Regions from separate parts of the Homo sapiens genome. Here region 2 is linked to region 1. Evidence: promoter capture Hi-C in human tissues and cell types (Jung and others, 2019). All regions are on one chromosome and are shown on one strand. Each heading gives the region's core, a stretch centred on a gene start or on the middle of the fragment in contact. The rest is flanking DNA. Distances are from core to core; before and after follow the strand shown.

Region 1 (2,918 bases), core at 54-2,553:
GTTCATTTTAAAACCCTAAAGCTGGGTTCTTAGAGGCTACTGCAACAGCAACAACTCCCGAGTGAGTGCTTATCATGTGCCAGGCTCTGGTTACAGGCTTTAACTCTCTCAGTGGAAACAGCCTGAGTGCTGGCTTGGCTACCCCATGTCTGTGAGACTGTGGGCAAGTCATTTACTTTCCCTTTGAGTTTCAATTTCTAAAACTGTAATATGGGGATAATATATGTAAAACAGCTAAGAAGTATATACTTTTAATGACTCTTTTTAGTGTCAATGGAGGATTTGTGAGCAAATGCATATAAAACACAAGGCAAACAGGAGGTATTTAGTAAGTGGCCACGTGATTATTGAGAGACTATGGGCTTCTTCCTGTTCCTCCAGAGCAAGACTGACAGGTGTCCTATTACCCTTGCATCTTCAGAGCCTAGAGCACAGCCCTGAAAACAGCAGGCGCTCACCACTTTTTATGATCAAAGGCAGTCTCTACAGGGAAAGTCAAATCATTATGGGTATTTATGAATTACAAAATCCATAAAGTTAAACCAGGAGAAATGGACAAAAACACACTCATTGTAGAGGTCTTTAATGATCCCTTGGCTCATGGCAGAGCAGCTAGACAAAAAACAAACAAACAAACAAACATGCAAAGATTCAGAAGGCCTGAAAAAATAATGAATACAAAGAAGATAAATCGATACAGTATTCTATCTTCACATTCGGAAGACAAAAACACCTTTCAAAAAACCATGGGACATTGGCAAAAATAACCACAGATAATCCTCAATAAATCTTGCCAGGAGGCAGTACAGATGACATTGAATTCAGTGAGACTACAAATTAAAGACAAAAAGGCGAAGTATAAATTACTTGTGTAAGAACTCTCTCAACTCTTGGGTCCAAGAAGAAAGCAAAAGGGAAATTGTATGATAGCAATAAATGTGCCATTACCCAGAGTCACACAGCTAACAGTGACACAGCTGAGGCTGCTAGAACCTGGGTCTACTGTCGTCCAGCCACGAACTGGCTTGAGATCCCGGATAAGTCTCTCTGAGCCTCGGTTTCCCCTTCTGTCAAGTAGCCTCGAAGGTCCCCGGCGCTCGGTTCGGTGGCGAGTTTGAGGAGTGTGGGGGAGGGGAGGGGAGGGAGCGTGCCCGAGACGCGGGAGCCGCGACCGCTTTCTGCGAAGTCGGGGAGGGTGCGGGCGTTGAGAGGCTGCAGCAGAGGGCGCTGGGTCGCCAGCCTGGGCCGCGTCTCCCATTGGTCGGGGCTGGGGCGCTGGGCTGGAGAGTTGGTGGAAAGTGACAAGTTGAGCGAGAGAGGGAGCGTGGAGAGCTGGAGCAGCCGCCACCGCCGCCGCCGAGGGAGCCCCGGGACGGCAGCCCCTGGGCGCAGGGTGCGCTGTTCTCGGAGTCCGACCCAGGGCGACTCACGCCCACTGGTGCGACCCGGACAGCCTGGGACTGACCCGCCGGCCCAGGCGAGGCTGCAGCCAGAGGGCTGGGAAGGGATCGCGCTCGCGGCATCCAGAGGCGGCCAGGCGGAGGCGAGGGAGCAGGTTAGAGGGACAAAGAGCTTTGCAGACGTCCCCGGCGTCCTGCGAGCGCCAGCGGCCGGGACGAGGCGGCCGGGAGCCCGGGAAGAGCCCGTGGATGTTCTGCGCGCGGCCTGGGAGCCGCCGCCGCCGCCGCCTCAGCGAGAGGAGGAATGCACCGGCCGCGCCGCCGCGGGACGCGCCCGCCGCTCCTGGCGCTGCTGGCCGCGCTGCTGCTGGCCGCACGCGGGGCTGCTGCCCAAGGTAAGAGGCGCCCGCCGGCCCCCGCCCGCCCAGACCCCCTGACCCGTGGCCACCCTTCCGCCGTCCAGCCGGGCGCGGGACACGCAGGAAGCGCCGCGCTGGCTCCGGGGCGCGTCCGGCCACCCGCCACGGGGCTCGCCGGCGCCGCCAGGCCAGGGTTTGCCCCGGAGCCCCGCCAGGCCAGGGTTTGCCCCGGAGCCCCGCGGCGGGCCGGGGCGCGCCCAGGGACTCGTTCCTCGGTGCGCAGCAGCGATTGTCAGCGCTGACAGGAAGCGTGGAGGGGTTTGAGGGTCCTGGGGGTGATCGGGGCACTTCTGTGCAGGGCGTCCCCCCTTGTCTCCCTGGACCTCTAGCGCGCCCCAGCCGGTGTTCAGGCAAGTCTATCCTGCCCCCAAGTTGCGAGCCGGCCCGGAAGGCGCGGTCCAGGAGGGAGTTTGGATTTTCAGTGGTGCTCGCCAGAGCCCAGGCGGCTCGCGGATCGACGCAAACAAAAGCCCTGTCCTCCTGGGGCTCCGGCGGCCTCGCATCGCCACCGCCCCCGGCCCTCCGGCCCTCCCGAGAGTCATCATAGAGGCCAAAACTTGTGCGCCGCTGCAGCCGCTGCCACTTTGTGCAAAATGTGCTGTCAGAGGCGGCCTGCGGCTCCAAAGTGCTTTGGGTGTGCACGCGCGCGCGCGCGCGTGTGTGTGTGCGTGTTACAAACAAGAGGGGGAAAAGCCATCTAATGCATATTTGATTTTGGTAATCTCTAAAGACAATCGCAACAGTTAGAGAAAGACTTCACCGCAAGCCGGAGCGTCTTAGTTCGCTGCGGGAAGCTGGGGTCCTTGCTGCGTCTGAGCCGGTACACAATGAGAGGGAAGAGCCCGGCTGAGCCTGTGGAGACAACCGATTCATTCTTTGGAGGTTGGAGGGGGAAAGTTGATTAAAGTCTCCGGGGTCTCGGGCCTCACTTTTAACATGCATCCCTTGAGGGGGTGAGGAGCCTTTGGATTCTGCCCTCCCCCACTCCCAGCCCTAAACCTGAGCGGATAAATAGATCTCTGCTCTTTTATCATGCATCTTTCATTTTTAAGTTAGCACTGTGTTTAGGAAAAGAAAAAGTTCTGCGCTACTTAGCAGT
Region 2 (2,700 bases), core at 53-2,552, 200 kb after region 1:
GATTTCAGAAAACTGTTGATGCTCAGAGGGAGAAAATTGGCCAACTTTAGGAATCAAAATTCCAATATTGCTCCAGGTAATGCCAGAGAAACATAATTTGACCTAATGTGGTCCACATCTTTCTAGTCCAGTGTCAACATCATTCATTAACTAGATATACACTGTTATGTACTATAAAACCATAACCAACTTTCCACCATTTTGGAGAAATTTCTAGCATAAGGAGAATCTAGATCCCTGGTTTGTCGGTGTCATCTTTTTTCTTCCTCCTTTTGTCAGTCACTTGGTCATATTGCTCATTAGCACCTTCAAATGGATATAGGAAAATGAAACTACAGGTTGAGTATCCCTTATCCAAAAATCTTGGGCCAGAAGTGTTTTGGAGTTCAGAATTTTTTGGATTTTGGAATATTTGCATATATATGGTGAGATATCTAGGACACAGGACATGGGTCTAAACACAAAATTCATTATGTTTCATATACACCTATATTAGTCCATTCTCACACTGCTAATAAAGACATACCCCAGACTGGGTAATTTATAAAGAAAAGAGATTTAATTGACTCACAGTTCCGCATATCTGGGGAAGCCTCAGGAAACTTAGAATCATGGCAGAAGGGAAAGCAAACATGTTCTTCTTCACATAATGGCAGCAAGGAGAAGAATGAGAGTGAAGTGGGGGGAAAGCCCCTTATAAAACCATCAGATCTCATGGGAACTCACTCACTATCACGAGAACAGCATGGAGGTAATTGCCCCCCATGATTCATTTACCTCCCATTGGGTCCCTCCCATGACACATGGGGAATTATGGGAACTACAGTTCAAGATGAGATTTGGGTGAGGACACAGGCAAACCATATCAACACCTTACACACATAGCTTGAATATTTATACAATATTTTTTAGTAATTTTGTGCCTGAAACAAAATTTTGACTGCATTTTGACTGTGACCTATCACATGAAGTCGGGTGTGGAATTTTTCACCTGTGGTTTCATGTTGGCGCTCCAAAAGTTTTGGGTTTTGGAGCATTTTGGATTTTGGATTTTTGGGTTAGGGATGCTCAACCTGTAGTGAGTTGGCTGTCACTCAGCAGCTCTGGAAAATTACCTGTCTGCACTGAATTTCCTCATCAGTAAAATGGAAATGATTATAGTACTGACCTTGTAGGATTATTCTAAAAATCAGAGAAGTTCATGCAGCTTAGAACAGTGCCAGGCACATGGCAAATGCTATGGCATACTTAAGCATCTTCCTCTGTGGTGCCTCGTCATCACCATGTGATTGTGCCTTGCTTGTTCCTGTTTCACTTTTCAGAGGGAGAAAAGTGGCCAACTTTAAGAATCAAAATTCTGATGTTACTTCAGGAAATGCATAGAGCCAGAGAGACACAATTTGACTTAGTATGATCCACATCATCCCCTCAGGCTGAATAGTGGTGGCATGCACATCTATACCAAAATGTTTTACCTTTTTTGTAGAAGGAAAATATTTGTATCTTCTATTCCATATCTTAGATCTTTATAAGAGCACTTAAGTTCAACCTCCTAAGAAACTGCCAATTTTGTTGATCACGATAGTCTGCACAGATTTTCGTACTATTTAGTGTTGGGAGTGCCTTAGGGACCATCAACAACAGGCCCCTCCTTTTATCCATGAGACTACTGAGGCCTTGGAGGTTATTTGTCCATCCATGGCGGGTGCACACTAGAGGTTATCTGGTTAGTAGCCCAACTAAGATTAGAACCCAGGAATTTTGATTTAATCTCAAATGACCTCTTTTATTTCTGCATCCGGGAAGGAGAAGAGGAAAGTAAACGGGAAATTCATGTTATCTATGGAAAAGTTATCAGTTTGATGTTTATTAAATGATTTGTTTCAGGAGATTGTTTACAACTTTTATCTTCCTAGACAATAATTTTCTGTAAGAGTAAAGTCATGGTCATTAAGGTAGTCATATTAATGTATTCAGTAAGCTGTGTGGTGTGGATAATTTTGGTTTTGACAATAATTATACTTTTATTGAACACTTCCTGTGTGACAGATCATTTATGTTCTTTTCTGCTGAAAATTCAGTATGGGCTGGGATCACATTTATTTTGTAGATTATTCTGTCTGCAATTCCCAAATATAGTGGGCAGCACATGGTAAACACTTTGTAAATAATTGTAACATGTTGTAGTTTTGTTATAGCGTTATGCTTTGTAAAATTAAAAGTAGCTATATCCTTCTATGATCCAGAAATTTCACTTCTGGTTATATAAATCAAAGAAATCCTCATATGGTTCTATAAGAGAACATGTATAAGCATGTTCATCACAGCATTGTTGGTGATAGCTGGGAATTGGAGACAATCTGAACACACATCTGTATTAGTCAAGGTTCTCCAGAGAAACAGAACCAATATATATAAAGAGATTTATTACCAGGAATTGGCTCATGCACTTATGGAGCCTGGAAAATCTGAAGTCTGTGGGGTGCGCTGGCAGGTTGGAGACCAGGAAAGGGCCGATGCTGTAGTTTCAAGTCCAAAGGCTGTCAGGCCGAAGACCTGGGAAAGAGTGAATGTTGTAGTTCAAGTCTGAAGGCCATCTGCTGGAGTAATTCCCTCTTGCGCTGGGGAGGTCAGCCTTTTGTTCTATTCAGGCCTTTAACTGATTAGATGAGGACCACCCACATTATGGAGGGCAATCTT

What was found. Contacts are between HindIII fragments. The study calls those that stand out against the background at their distance.
Region 2: a fragment that was not itself captured here is called in contact with the fragment with the promoter of ROR1 in region 1 in 1 of the 25 tissues and cell types used here (thymus).

The regions. Positions count from the first base shown.
Region 1 is chr1:63,772,714-63,775,631 of GRCh38, forward strand. ROR1 (receptor tyrosine kinase like orphan receptor 1) reads left to right here and starts at 1,304. Exons shown (of 9, transcript NM_005012.4): 1 at 1,304-1,795. The coding sequence starts at 1,705. RefSeq lists silencers at 1,371-1,420, 2,205-2,499 and an enhancer at 2,365-2,918. The HindIII fragment of the contact is 10,974 bases long and covers 1-2,918 here.
Region 2 is chr1:63,976,390-63,979,089 of GRCh38, forward strand. All of the region lies in intron 1 of ROR1 (receptor tyrosine kinase like orphan receptor 1), which reads left to right. Among named protein-coding and RNA genes, the nearest start is that of ROR1-AS1, 130 kb to the right of the region's middle. The HindIII fragment of the contact is 8,168 bases long and covers 1-2,700 here.